Linked DNA regions of Homo sapiens: all the other regions are linked to region 1. The links are contacts of gene promoters, found by promoter capture Hi-C in blood cells and fetal thymus (Javierre and others, 2016). All regions are on one chromosome and are shown on one strand. Each heading gives the region's core, a stretch centred on a gene start or on the middle of the fragment in contact. The rest is flanking DNA. Distances are from core to core; before and after follow the strand shown. Region 1 holds the start of ZBTB20 (zinc finger and BTB domain containing 20). Region 2 overlaps GAP43 (growth associated protein 43). Region 3 has its middle 140 kb from the start of SNORD155. Region 4 overlaps GAP43 (growth associated protein 43).

Region 1 (3,280 bases), core at 680-3,179:
TTAGCTAAGATTTATATATAAGTTTAAAAGTGTTTTGGCTTCCAAACTCACTAGCAATTCCCAGACTTCAAAATTGACACCACACACAGTAATTTTCTGGATTCTCAAAGCCTCATACATATAATCCTCACAAGATAGCTTTAATAGTATTAATGAGGTCAAGGCCCTTACTTTTTTTTTTTTCACCAGGGCCAATTTATTTTGCTTAGTTTCTGTCAAAGACCTCTAACCAGGCATCTTATGTGAAAGCATGCTGTACGTTCCAAAGAAGCCTGGGTTAAAATCCAGATGACTTAAGTCTATTGGAAATTATACATCAAATCCATGTCCTAGAAACAATGTCATTTTCAAATCCCAAGTACAGTGTATTCTTTGCATGCATGGTATTTTTGATAAAGTCTCTTATTTTGTGACAAAATATTGCTATATCAGCTGCCTAAAAAAGTGCAACTTAGTTTGGCAGTAATTATTTTTTTTTCTTTGTATAGTGAAAAGCGATTTCCCCAACCCTCCCATCTTGGCCCTTGTAAGAAATCCTTTTTAGGAATCTATCCTGGGCTTCCTGCTGGACTTCAGCCTCATTTTTTTCTCCAATGCCTGAGTACTGGACCAATATTTGGTAAGAATTTGGCTCTGGGGAGTGCTATGTTGAATGACAAATGGTTGAGGACGAAGATTTTATTGAAGCATTTGAACCACACTTAATTTTCCGTGTTGCTTTATTTGTTCCTTTTACCACCCAGGATATTGAATTCTGTGGGCTCTGGTTGAGTCGTTGGTACTTCAGGCGTTCAGTAATAAGAAACATAATCTGCTTTTTCCGGCAGGATAATAAATCTCATTTATATTAAGGGAGGCTTACTCCAAACTCTTTTACATAGTATTTTTCTAAATCTTCTGCATGAACAAATTCTTCCTTGAGCCCTAGCACTGGGGACCCGGTCTGGCAACCTGCGCCCCATTCCGCGGGAATCAAGCGTGACCCGGTGCGGCCTTGCGCGCTGCCGCCAGCCAGACCCTCCCTCCGGCTTTCCCACCCACCGCCCGGGATCCAGCCTCCATCCCGCTGCCTCAGCTGTCCAAGACAGCGACACCCCCCTCTCCGCTCCCGCGGCTCCCCCGGCGCAGCTCGCCGCGCCAGACAGCGGGTAACCGCCGCCTCCGCTGGGGCATCCCGGCTCCACAGGCCCAGCGCGCTCCAGACACCTGCCTCTCACTGGCCACCGCCGCTGCCCCTCACCCCGCAGCCCTCTCGGCAATTGGCCCCAGGCCGCCGCTCGTCATCCTCAGCCTTCTCCTAGAGTACCGCCTCCGTCGCCGGGTCATTTAAGTTTATCACAAATAAATAAATAAAGGAGGAAATAGAAATGCGTAGAAAGTAAAAGCAGTAGGGGGTGGGGGAGATGGGGCGTGGAGGAAAAGGAGGGAGGAGCGGAGGAGTAAGCAACCTAACCTGATTGCGCCTGTGTCGACCAATCATGGCTCACTCCAGTCCGGTCTGACGGGCTCCCTGAACCAATAGCCTTCCACCTCCCGGATCACTGAACAACGAGATACGATTGACCTTTTCAGAAAGGGTGAAGGTGCGGCGGGGGGAGGGGGTTGTGGGGGTGGGCGAAGTGGAAGGATTGTCCACCAATCGCCTGTTAATACTTCTCTGAGCGAAGTTTCCGCGTCCCAATGGATGTTTGAGATAGCGGATTGGGCCTCTTTTAGCCCAATCGAAGGTGACAGAGATGAGGGAAGAGGAAGAAAGGGGCGGGGACGGGGGGGCGGAGGGGAGAAGGAAGAGTGCATTTTGTTTATGGGCGGCAACCTCACGAGGGGCGTCCCATTCTCATTGGCTCACTGAAGCCAAGATTGGCGTGAGAGCTATCCTATAGCGGGGAGAGATAGAGGGTTCGCGGAGTGAAGCGTCCAATGTGGGCCTTCTGCCGAAGAAGTAGGGGCGGGGGGAAGTTTAGGAGTTGAGGAAAGAAGATTAAAGAGCGCGAGGAGGTAATGCCACAAACTCTAATTTGTTGTGGGACGGGCGGGAGAGAGGGAGGAGTGTGTGCGTGCCGAGGGGGATGAGGCGTCTGCGAGGCGCCTGGAGTGGGGGGCGGCGGGACTGGGAAGGAGGGGAGCGGGGTGGGGTTGGGGGAGCGAGTTACAGAGCGGCGAGCCAGCGGGCCCTGAGCTGGATGAGCGCGCGCGCCCCCGCGCCCCGCCCCGCCCCGCCCCGCCCGCGCCCCCTCCCCCGGCGCCCTTCTTAGCGCCCGGCGGCTGCCTCGCCCGACCCGGCGGGGAGGTGGGAGGGAGGCGCGGGAGGGTCGAAGGGTGGCGGGGCGGGCGGGACGTCCCGCAGCTGGAAACGTGTCTTCTGCCTTCTTCTCTCTACTCCCTGCGCCTGGAGCCGCTGCTTCCAAGAAGAGGAGCTGAGGGGGACTAGCCGGGGCTCAGGAGCTGCTAGAGGCGCCCGCTTGTCTTCTGCCCCCTCCCTCCTCGCCCTCCCCCGCTTGCCGTGGCTCTCGCGGTCTCTGGAGCGTCTTCAGAGAACTGGGGGGCAGGAGGTGTCCTGGCCCCACAGCCGCTGGATGTCTCTCCAGACGCCGGAGCTCCCGGCCCCCGCCTGCTTCGCTTCTACGACTAGAGAGGAGGGGGCTTGGGAAGGGAAGACACACCTTTCCTTCTTTCTCTTCTTTGGGCCACTTCGGAAACATTAAAACATGTTAACACTTTTTGATTCCTGATATAAAAATGGTTGGAAGGTTCTTGAAAGTTTAAAACAAATGCCGTCTCTCGTACACTGTTTAATGTATTCCTGTCTGTGTGGCTTTTGGGTCCTCCCCCCACCCCCCGCCCCCAGCTGTTATCCTTTTTAAGGATGCTGAAGAGGCAGGAGGCAGGGATTTTCTAAAAGTTCTATTGATAAACACACTTGCACAAACATATGCTAGGCACACACACAAACTAAACATTAGCGAAAAACACAATATGGCGTACAGCTACGGTACCTAGCGCGGTAATCCGCTGATCTCTCACTCCGAACTGGGTTGAATGAGGTCAGTAGCAGGATGACAGCTCTCCAATGAAAATCTGAATGAATCAGGAAGTAGTTTGGAAGCTTGCGGGTGTAGTACTGTCCTCAGAATCAGCATTGGCCAAACCTAAGTTGAACATGTTACCTTTCTAGACATGTGAAAATCTTCTCCACTGTTTTTTCTATTAAAAATACCAAAAGGGTGCTAAAGTCAAGTTTCCTCACTGCGTGGCGGTGTATACATTTCAGCTAAAAAAA
Region 2 (3,533 bases), core at 292-2,791, 520 kb before region 1:
CATCTAACTACAACAGGTATATGATTCCCCAATTATAGAAATTAGTAAGCAGAGGTTTAACAAGAAAAGAAATAGCAAAGCTATAGAAACGCCATTGATCATAATAATAAACAAGCACTTGAAAATAATAATACATCTAAGATAAAGACAACTGATTTATATTTATCTATTGACTCGTTAGAGTCATATCAATAAAATTATTTTTCTGTGTGTGTGTGTGTGTGTGTGTACTTTTTCTTTCTTTTTTTTTTTTTAGACAGGGTCACTCTCTGTCACCCAGGCTGGAGCGCAGTGGCACTATCTCAGATGACTGCTGCAGCCTTGACCTCCCAAGCTCAAGCAATCCTTCCACTTCAGTCTCTCAAATAGCTGGGGCTACAGCTATGTGCCACCATGCCCAGCTAATTTTTATATTTTTTGTAGAGATGGACAACATTTCACCATATTACCCAGGCTGGTCTCAAACTCCTGGACTCAAGCCATCTTCCTGCCTCGGCCTCCCAAAGTGCTGGGATTACAGTGTGAGGCACTGCTCCCTGCTTATATGCGTTTTCACTAGCAAAACTGGTGAAAGTGGCTGGGTGCTGTGGCTCATGCCTGTAATCTCAGCACTTTGTGAGGCTGAGGTGGGCAGATCACCTGAGGTCAGGAGTTTGAGACCAGCCTGACCAACATAGAGAAACTCTGTCTCTACTAAAAATACAAAATTAGCCAGGTGTGGTGGCACATGCCTGTAATCCCAGCTACTTGGGAGGCTGAGGCAGGAGAATTGCTTGAACCCAGGAGGCGGAGGTTGCGATGAGCTGAGATCACACCATTGCACTCCAGCCTGGGCAACAAGAGCGAAACTCCGTCTCAAATAAATAAATAAAAGTGGTGAAAATATTCATGGGAGATTGCTGGAGAATCTCTGCTCCCTACTATTTATATTTAATCTGTGTATTGCTCTCCAAAGCTTAAGGGGAGTAGGCTGGGAATAACTAGTCCCTTAGTTATTCAAGGAAGGAAGTCTCCTTCCCTAAACAGGGGTTGGAAGAGCCCAGTGTTGCGATGAGGCACGTTAATCATGCTGGTCATGTACCAAGGCACAAGCCAGACAGAATCACTTGACTAAACTCCTCTAGAAAACTTTTGGATATAGCAGACATAGGTATAAGTTACCTAACTGAATCAAGGGTCAAAATCACTGAGACTCAGGAAAATACCTATGGGAAGTCAGCCCTGGGAGGAAGCATCTCTACTCTTGAGCAATGGGAGCAAACCCTCTGATGAACACTGCCCATTACAGAAGCACATGTTGATTCCCTCAAGAAATGACATGCTCAAAGGACAGAAGGGCTGGCAAAGTGAGGGGGACACTAGACTCTGCTCTCAGAGAGGTTGCTATGCCTTTAGCAGCCACTGTGAGCTAGGAACAAAAGGGTGGAACTCCCCATCACTCAGCTAAAAAGGCTATCACAGACCAGTCCATGAGAGGGACTGTGAGGCCTCTTCTGCTAGCAACTGAAGACAGAAGAAGAGCTGCAGGAAGCCAATGCATCAAGAAAAAGACAGAAAAGCAGTTTACCAGCAGACAAACCCCTGTACTACCACCAGAGGCAAATCTTTCCCAGCTGAGAGGCCCCAAGAGCAAAGCACATGCCAAGCTCCTGAAGATGGTCAGAGCTCACCAGCAGGAAGAGGGCCCCAGAGCCCAGGGAACTTAGCATAAAACAATCTTCCTTCCAGGTAAGACACTGCGAAGTGTCTTTTGTTGGATACTCAAAAATGTGAGATGCAATAAGATAAGTATTTTCTTAAATTACTACAGTCTTCCTACTATAACAAATAATGATTGTTCATCTATTTTTTCTTAATTAAACCCCCTTCATAAGTTACAGTCTGAGTCAGCAGGTACTTGAGACATTTTGTTCAATGAATAAATGAGTCAGAGACTTTTCTCACCCACTCTACCACACACCCTTCTTCAAATGTTGTCACTCTTGGTCCACTTCTCTGTCTTTCCCCTCTTAGTTCTTATGATCATCTGCTGTATGTTTTTATTTTATTACTAACTGAACTTCGCTTGGGCTATAAACAATCTGAGAACAGAACTTTATCTGTTTTTTTACAATCTTCTAAGCTTCAGTGGCTAAAATAGTGCTGGCACATAGTTGATACTAAAAAAAAATGTTATTTTTAGTTGTTGCATGACCACATGCCATACTGTGTTGGTGCTCAGAGAGTGTGTAAACTCTCTGTGTGTGAACACTCAGCTCACTGGCTGGGTGTTCTCGCTCCAGGTCACTAATGCTGGAGCCTTCATCACGCCACTCTCCAGCAGTCATTTTCCTCTCTCTTCTTACATTTATAAGTGCACAGTATATATATTTAGTATTTCAATTCAATCCTCATCATGATCATGTGAGGAACACATCACTGTGCCTGTTTTATAATCAACACAGATGAGGAACCAGGAAGGAGTCCAGCGTCATCCAGCTTCTGAATGACAAAGCCCTTGCTTAGTCCTCCTCCTGTAAAAGTCAATATTCCCTGGTGCTTAAGAGCATGGGCTGCGGAGTTAGACATGTGTAAGTTTGAATTCCAGCTCTGCCAGTTACTTGGTAGATCCTGACCTTGGGCAAGTCAGCTTTAGGCTCCTCATCTGCAGGATGAGGGAATAAAAAAACTATCCCATTGGGCTGATATGAGAATCAAATGAGTTAATGCACATAAAGCACCCAGCACAGTCCCTGACACTTTGTACATACTCAGAAAGGGGTGGCTGCTACCATTATTCTCATCATAATTATTGCCATCACCATTATTCTCTCAGAGTAATTTCTAGAGCATCGTGACATTAAGTTAAGGCATGTTGATAAGACAAATACCAGAGGAGATTTGGTCATGAGACTGTATTCATCCTGATGATTGTAGGTATCATCACTCAGAGGGTGGAAAAGCTATTTCTTAACTCGACAGTACTACTGAGCTATATCTATTCTCAAAGAAAGAGATAAGCAGGAAACCATGTAAAATGTGCCATAGTACTCAACTCTGTTCTTTCTTATCTTGGGAAGGGGGAAGATCTGTTTACATTGTCAAAGTTAAACCACAGTCCCACTCTACTATCACCTGACACACACCAACTGATTCCTTCTCAGTCTTCTCTAACTTACCCACCCCCCAAAACTTCACCTAGTGTAGGAGCTTAGTGATAGAAATTCACTGAAACTAGAAATCTATTCATTCCCAAAATATGTGACCTTCACCTGACATCCCCCAACCACACACACACACACACACACACACACACACACACACACACACTCATTTAGCCACTATTTCATATACAGTATCTATCCCATTGATCCAACTATATCCCTCACACATCTAGTAAAACAATTGCCTCTGCAGGTTCTGAGAGCTACTCTATGTGCTTGTGTGTGGTAATACTCAAGCCTGATAAAAGTTACAAATGAAGCTGCCAGACATTTGTAGGGGACTAGCTTAAGAGCATCTGGTACTGAAGATCATTATAATTTGAAATTGCC
Region 3 (3,241 bases), core at 147-2,646, 620 kb before region 1:
AGATCAGAAGTTAATTCCTGAAATTCTCCTGTTGCTTTCAGGTTGCAGAATTGCTGGAATTTGCTTTATCCATGAGAGAGGGGTGATTATGGAAGTGTGGATAAAAACGTGGCATTTGAAGTGAATGCTAAAGGATGTGAGCAGATGAAAGTAGAGGGCCTTTCTGACAGATGGTGTGAGAAATGGCAAGATGTACTTCAGGTCTGGCAAAAGGCTGATCTGGCTGTCTCGAAGGGATATTTTTTAGCCAGGGACTGTTTGGTTGCAAGATATAGAAATTCACCTAAACTACCATAAGTTAACGGGAATTTATTCTAAGAACTAGAACCCATGAGAAAAAAGGGCAGGAACAGCAGCTAAGCTTCATTATTGTATAGAATGGAAAGCAGGAATGCCTTCAAGAGCAAAGCCATCTACTTTCCATCTCTTGTCTCTCTTTCCAAGCATCTAATTTTTACCCTTTTCTGGATTTTGGCCCCATTTACCTGCTTCTATCTGCAGAGTGCTCCTTTCTTTGAGGTCTCAGCATACAAATAGCTGCTGCAAAATGACAGTCATACAATTTTATCTATAGTGTCATCCAGGCCCAGTAACATTAGGTAATCGACTGGGCTGAGTTGCTGAGTCTTAAATCCAAATTCCTTAGGAAGATAATCTGATTAATCCAGCTGGGTCAGGTGTCTATCCCTGCCAATCAGCTGTGTTCAGATAGATGGGGCCAGCTACTCAGGGAGATGTGGCATAGTGGACTCAGGAGATCTAACCAAAGGAAGTATATGTGTAGATGGGAAATGATGGACAAAATGAAGATTTATAAAAGGTGATTTAGGCCTTTTTATTGAGGGCTTTAAATGCTAGGCAGAAGGGCTTTAATTTTTAAATAGTAAATAATTGAATCCATTCATTTAAGCCAATAATTCAAACCATTTAGGCAAAAGAGAGTTAAACAAAGCATTGCTATTATAAGATTGCTTTAGCAGCAGGAGAATTTGAAGAAGGGAATGACTGAAGACACAAAGATCAGGATAAAAACTGCAATGACCATAGTTCAGTATAATAAAATTTTAAACTGGGTGATGGTAGTAAGAATAGAAAACAGAGAGAAGGATTTGGGAGTCATCCCACTGATAACATTGGCTACACCCTGGTTGTAGGAATCAAGATAATGCATGTGAATGCATGTTAAAACCAAAAAAGAACTATATAAATGTACCAATAAATGTGTCTGAAAGGATAAGCATGACGATATTTTAATGCCAGACATGGATTTGAAGAAAATCCATGTGATAAAGTCTGACAAACTATTGGGAAAGCAGGTCCCAAGGTTAGGAGAGAGTAGAGGCTAGGAGAGAGTAGAGGCTAAAGATAGGACACTGGACAACCCTCTAGGACTTGAATTTCAATTATAATAAAAGGGAATGTGGGAGAATTTTCTTTAAAAAAGTTGATATAGAACATAAGAATGCCTAAGGGGGATAAAATTATTTTCACCTATTTATAAAATAATTATAATAACAAGACTCCTTCCTTTCACTTTCTCCTTCAAAAGAGTTTTATCTTTTCTGGACTGATCATGTGAATCCAGCTATGGTTATGAAACAAAAATCGATCTTGCTGGTCTTAAAGTGATGTCTCCTCCTCCCTGCTAAAGAAGGAATGGGCATGACCTCACATAGCTGCCTTTCGTGGTCTTTTGATAAATTTTTGATTGTGTAATTTCCCTATTGCCGGATGATTATGCATGGCAGGCTGATTCAGAGGCCATTGTCTGTTTTGAAATGAACCCCTAGAATGCACTAATGGGATTTTGTGCCATTAATGCTGAATAGAGTGGGATGAGAAATCACTTTTCTGATCTGCCTGCTCCTTAGTCTCAGTGCTCAATGACAGTACAAGTAACTACTGTGAGAAAAAGGATTCACCAAGATGTTGGCCCCGTCTATCCTCCCCCTAAATCCCTACAGTGAATTAACAGGGTCTTACCTTTCCCATCTTTTTATCTCTTCCGGTTAACGTGAACATATCAAGTCATGAGCTCTAATTTTCAGGGTGGGTGAGTCATCTGTCACCCTCTCTATAGCCCACTTCATCCAGAATAAAAAGCATTGTGCTATGGGGACATTTTATACCAGGGAAAATCAGCTTTGTAGATCAGGCCCTTTGCCAAATTTCTTTTCAAAGGCTTTCCTTTGCAGATTTTCCTTTTCTGGTCCTTCTAACTTTGAAGCATCTGACTGTTTTTGTGCCCTGTGTGAAGGAGTCAAGATGAGCTGAGTCATAGCTGAGCTGTTTATACTTCTTTTATCTTACTACCATGTAAATCACTCTTCAATTGTATTCTGCAAGAACAAACCCTGAGAAAGGTTGGAAGCTCTGAGCTGGATTTGTGTGCCTCCTTCCCTGCAGGACAGCTTTTCAGTTATAAGCTTAGAACTTGGAGTTAAACCTGTTGTTCCCTCTCTGCTTGCTAGAGTCTAAGAGCACGTTTGCATTCAGTGTGTCCACAATAAAAGTTGTCTTAGTCCTTTACATGGTTTTCCATATCTAGAGGATGGTAAAACAGAGGTAATACATTTTGTGCCTATAGGAAATGGAATTTAACAATATGCACCTACACAGAATGAAAATGAAAACCTGACCCAGAAGTAATACTCTCATAAAATATAAAACTAAATCTATTTGCTGACAAGCACCACCTGGTGTGGGTATTTCCTTCCCAAGAGCTAAGGCACTCTGCGGCCTTGGGAGTTTCCTCTGATCTTCATCAGGAACGTGCATCCTTCCACATGCTTTTCACTTCTGGACGGCTCTGGGTCTCTAAAAGGCAGGGTGAACAGAAACATGCCACCTCACTCAAGACATGCCCCTGTAGAACAATCTGTGGGAAGCATAGAAGGCATATGAATACCTGATAATTGGGATGATTCTGGGAGCATTAGGAAGATTTCATGGCAGCGATGCACAAGCTGTGAATGCTTTGATAAACATTTCCCTCTTGGAGAGTGTGTAGGCAGTCAGATGAGTATTTTCATGACACGAATAAATATGTGAGTGCCGTGGCATTCGCCCCCACTCCACCACACTACCTTCAACATTGTTATGAGAAAAGGGGAGGGGGGAACATGTGTCTGTGTAAGTATATGCATGTATATGTAAGTGCACGCACACACACATACACACACACTTCCACATAAATATAAATACATACTTGTGCTTAGAAAGAAATGAAAGAAGAAAAGAC
Region 4 (3,521 bases), core at 559-3,058, 540 kb before region 1:
TGCTTCATCATAATGCTCATTTCTTTTCTTCAGACCCTACCCACTATCGTGGTCTCTGAATTCCTTTGCCACAACTACAGACTGCAGTTTGCAAGCAGTCACAGACTTATTTTGTTCTATACTGGTACTGAGTCTTTTTTGTTTCTGTTTTCTTTTAAGAGCCTTACTTTTCTCCCCATCCAGACTGTAACTTCCATGACAACAGATATTCACTTTTATAATCTACATCCCTCACAATGCCTGTGTAGTGTGGAAATTATACGTATTAATAAGTACAAATTAATTGAATGACAGTAGAATACAGTCCTTGCGATATCTGGGTTTATCTCCTCTATTCTGATGCTAACTCATTGTGGGACCATGGCCAGACCATGCAACTGAATCCCAGAACATGCTTCATCGTTCATTAAAACACAGGCACACACAACTTCTCCTGGAGATTGTTCAAGCATAGTGCATCATAATATTTTTGTGCAGTGGTCCCAGTAGAGTATCTGATGAAAGACAAGGTCATTTTGCCAAGAATATCATCCGTATGCACACACAGTATAACATGTTGCAAATAATCTTAGGAGATGAAAGAACCCTCCTGAAGCCCATCCAGTTCCCAGGCTTAGGCAATTTTTAAGTTTCCTTTTAGGTCTAAGACTGTAGGATTGAAATACAAGATGTGACAAGTTATAGCTGGTATCTACCTGGAAAGAGTGTGTTAGCTATTTCCCTTAAGGTATCCCAACCTTTTCTATTGAATCCCTAGATTGCAGTTTCTGAGGGACAAATTACATGAAGCCCAAATTAACCCTAACATCACTACCTGGTAACCTTGGCTGACTTCCAGGCTCAATCATTACTGATAATGTAAGGACTTGGTAATGTTGCTGAGCTACAAGGTAGGCCAAATAGAATAGACTCTGACTCCCAAAAGAGACTGCAAATCATTATGTGTCTCTCTTGCTGGCCATAAATCATGTCCTATTTGCACGTTAATTTCCTTCATAAAATCAGGTGTAGTACCAAAGAAAAAGAAAGTTCCCCAATAGCTTCAGCTGAAAGGAACAGGAACAATGGTGACTTTCTATTAGGCACTTACTGTGTGTTCAATAAAATACCATAATAGACACCTTTTACACATGATCTATTTAATACCGACAACCACCAAGTTCAGCAATGAGGATATTTTATTTCACAATGACAAAGCTGACGCTGAATTAATGGCATAGAGCTGGTTAGGGACTGGACCTTTGATTCAAACATAGATAGGTCCGATTCCAAGATCGCTCTGATATTTCTCCTCCACTGCAGGCCTCCAAGCAAGAGATTTGGCTAAATTCATGTTTGTTGCAATTCTGTCTATTGTTGCAGTATCCACTGAATAATATATTTGTCTTTTGTATTACTTCGAATACAAAATAGTACTCTGAAATACTTTACTTTGGGTCACCAAGAAACCATTGTTCTCTTTATTTGCTGGATGAAGTAATTTCTTCCACTATTTTACCTGTAGGAAGATGACAGATTATCCATGCTTTTACCATCTTCAATTTTAAGATTTGCCCAGAGGGGGCCAGGCGCAGTGGCTCATGCCTGTAATCCCAGGATTTTGGGAGGCCGAGGCGGGTGGATCATGAGGTCAGGAGATTGAGACCATCCTAGCTAACATGGTGAAACCCCATCTCTACTAAAAATACAAAAAGTTAGCCGGGCATGGTGGCGGGTGCCTGTAGTCCCAGCTACTCAGGAGGCTGAGGCAGGAGAATGGCGTGAACCTGGGAGACGGAGCTTGCAGTGAGCTGAGATTGCACCACTGCACTCCAGCCTGGGCGACAGAGGGAGACTCCGTCTCAAAAAAAAAAAAAAAAGAAAGAAAGAAAAAAAAAAAAAAGATTTGCCCAGAGGATCTTCATATGGGGAGAGGAGAGTATGAGGATCAAAAGTGATTATTTCAGATTATCAGAAGAAAACTTAGGCAAAATGATAATAATTGAGGACCTACTCTATACCTGGTTCTTTAAATATGTTACCTCATTAAATCCTCATCACAACTGTTTAAGGGTAACATTTTAATCTCTATCTTATAGATGAAGACACTGAAGGTTATACAAATCATTAAAACCATGCAGTGAGGAACCTGAGGTTGAACCCAGGACTGTCCAGTTCCAAGACTGTCTCTTTATGAGGTGTTCAAAGTAAAAAAATGTTTCTGAAACATGCCTTGTAATCTGAAACTTCTTATGGAAATAGGCCTACATTTAAAATTGTGAGATTATGAAACTCAATCCTTTTCTTTTCCTGTCTGGAAGCAAGCAGAGACAATGTCTCTTGGTTTGTTGAGGCAGCGCTGGCTGGGGACTGATGCTGCAGAAGGGCTCAGACAATGGTGGGCAGGGGGTGGCGGGGGGGTCTCTCCTAGGGGAGCTGTGCCCCATCTGCCACTTAGATCTGCTCAAAGACAGAAAATCCATTTGTCAAGGAACCCTTTAGGGCCTGCTGTTTGTGAAGCCAAGAACAGAGAGCGCTAGTGCTGGAAGATCCCATAAAACCATCTTTTACCAGCAAGGAAGGTAAATTGGCCTTGGCCATGGCCAGAGAGCTTGTCAGAAACAGAGCTACAAGAAAACCACGGCTGTCTCTTGGTACTCAGCTCAGTCAGTGCCTTCCCCTGCTCTTCAGCGCCCCTCCAGCCCTGCTTCTCCCACACCTCTTGCTTTCTCGCCTATTATTCCTTCTTTCTCTTTTCTACCATCTATTCTTTCTCCACTTTGCCCTTGCTTATTCTTTCTGCCTCCCCTGATCGATTTCTGGTCCTCTTCTGCTTTTTTTCCTCCCACTTTTTTCTCCATTTTCTACCCCATTATTCTTCCCTCCTACTCTCCCTTTTCTCTATAGGAAGTAAAGAATCTCTATCCACATCCCCACCTTGTTCCTCCTAAGGGCCCACCTTCCTTTTTCACATTCTGACCAATTTTCCTTCTCAATCAAATATCCTCATTCAGACTCAGAGTGTCTGGGTGCCTAGGAAATATTTAGAAATGGGTCATGGAAAAGAAGTTGCTGATGTATAAAATTCCAAAGAACTGGGCTGCAAGCAATAAAGATGGACACTTGCCTGAAAAACTCTTAGCTTTTCTTGTGGGGCTTCAAATTTAAAAAATTAAATGGTTCTTTCCCTTTCAAGCTGTTTATGAAAAGAAATCTCTCCATAGGTGCAATCCATATTATTGGCCAGTCAGAGGATGTCTATTGAGAGCCTTCTATGTGCTGTGCTCTATTCTGAGCACTGGGGCTACCATGCAGCCTTCAAGAAATGAAAAGTCTACTGAGAGGGAGAGAAACTGAGGACGACACAGATAAACACAGTCGTTTTAGGCACTAAGAATGCTACGGAGAAAATAAACTGGGTAATGTGATGTAACTGTTGGCATTGGTAGGGGTAGTGCAGTGCTGTTCTGCCCAAATGGTCAGGGAAGACTTGTCTGAGTAAGGGACATTCAAATGGAGACCTGAGTGCCAAGAGGCCAGGG

The links. Contacts are between HindIII fragments. The CHiCAGO score rates a contact against its expected background, and 5 or more counts as called.
Region 2: a fragment that was not itself captured here is called in contact with the fragment with the promoter of ZBTB20 in region 1 in 4 of 17 cell types (total B cells, M1 macrophages, fetal thymus and 1 more); the score reaches 8.3 in total B cells.
Region 3: a contact is called between a fragment that was not itself captured here and the fragment with the promoter of ZBTB20 in region 1, in 4 of 17 cell types (fetal thymus, naive CD8 T cells, endothelial precursors and 1 more). The highest score is 7.2, in fetal thymus.
Region 4: a contact is called between a fragment that was not itself captured here and the fragment with the promoter of ZBTB20 in region 1, in 6 of 17 cell types (M1 macrophages, naive B cells, M2 macrophages and 3 more). The highest score is 7.0, in M1 macrophages.

The regions. Positions count from the first base shown.
Region 1 is chr3:115,145,937-115,149,216 of GRCh38, reverse strand. It overlaps ZBTB20 (zinc finger and BTB domain containing 20), which reads left to right and starts at 1,929. Exons shown (of 12, transcript NM_001348800.3): 1 at 1,929-1,998. RefSeq lists silencers at 934-1,153, 1,714-1,883, 2,194-2,463 and enhancers at 1,204-1,413, 3,144-3,253. The HindIII fragment of the contact is 9,545 bases long and covers 1-3,108 here.
Region 2 is chr3:115,665,766-115,669,298 of GRCh38, reverse strand. The region is part of intron 1 of GAP43 (growth associated protein 43); the gene reads right to left. Among named protein-coding and RNA genes, the nearest start is that of GAP43, 44 kb to the right of the region's middle. The HindIII fragment of the contact is 1,167 bases long and covers 958-2,124 here.
Region 3 is chr3:115,765,816-115,769,056 of GRCh38, reverse strand. No RefSeq gene overlaps it. Among named protein-coding and RNA genes, the nearest start is that of SNORD155, 140 kb to the left of the region's middle. The HindIII fragment of the contact is 2,065 bases long and covers 364-2,428 here.
Region 4 is chr3:115,689,096-115,692,616 of GRCh38, reverse strand. All of the region lies in intron 2 of GAP43 (growth associated protein 43), which reads right to left. Among named protein-coding and RNA genes, the nearest start is that of GAP43, 67 kb to the right of the region's middle. The HindIII fragment of the contact is 7,513 bases long and covers 1-3,521 here.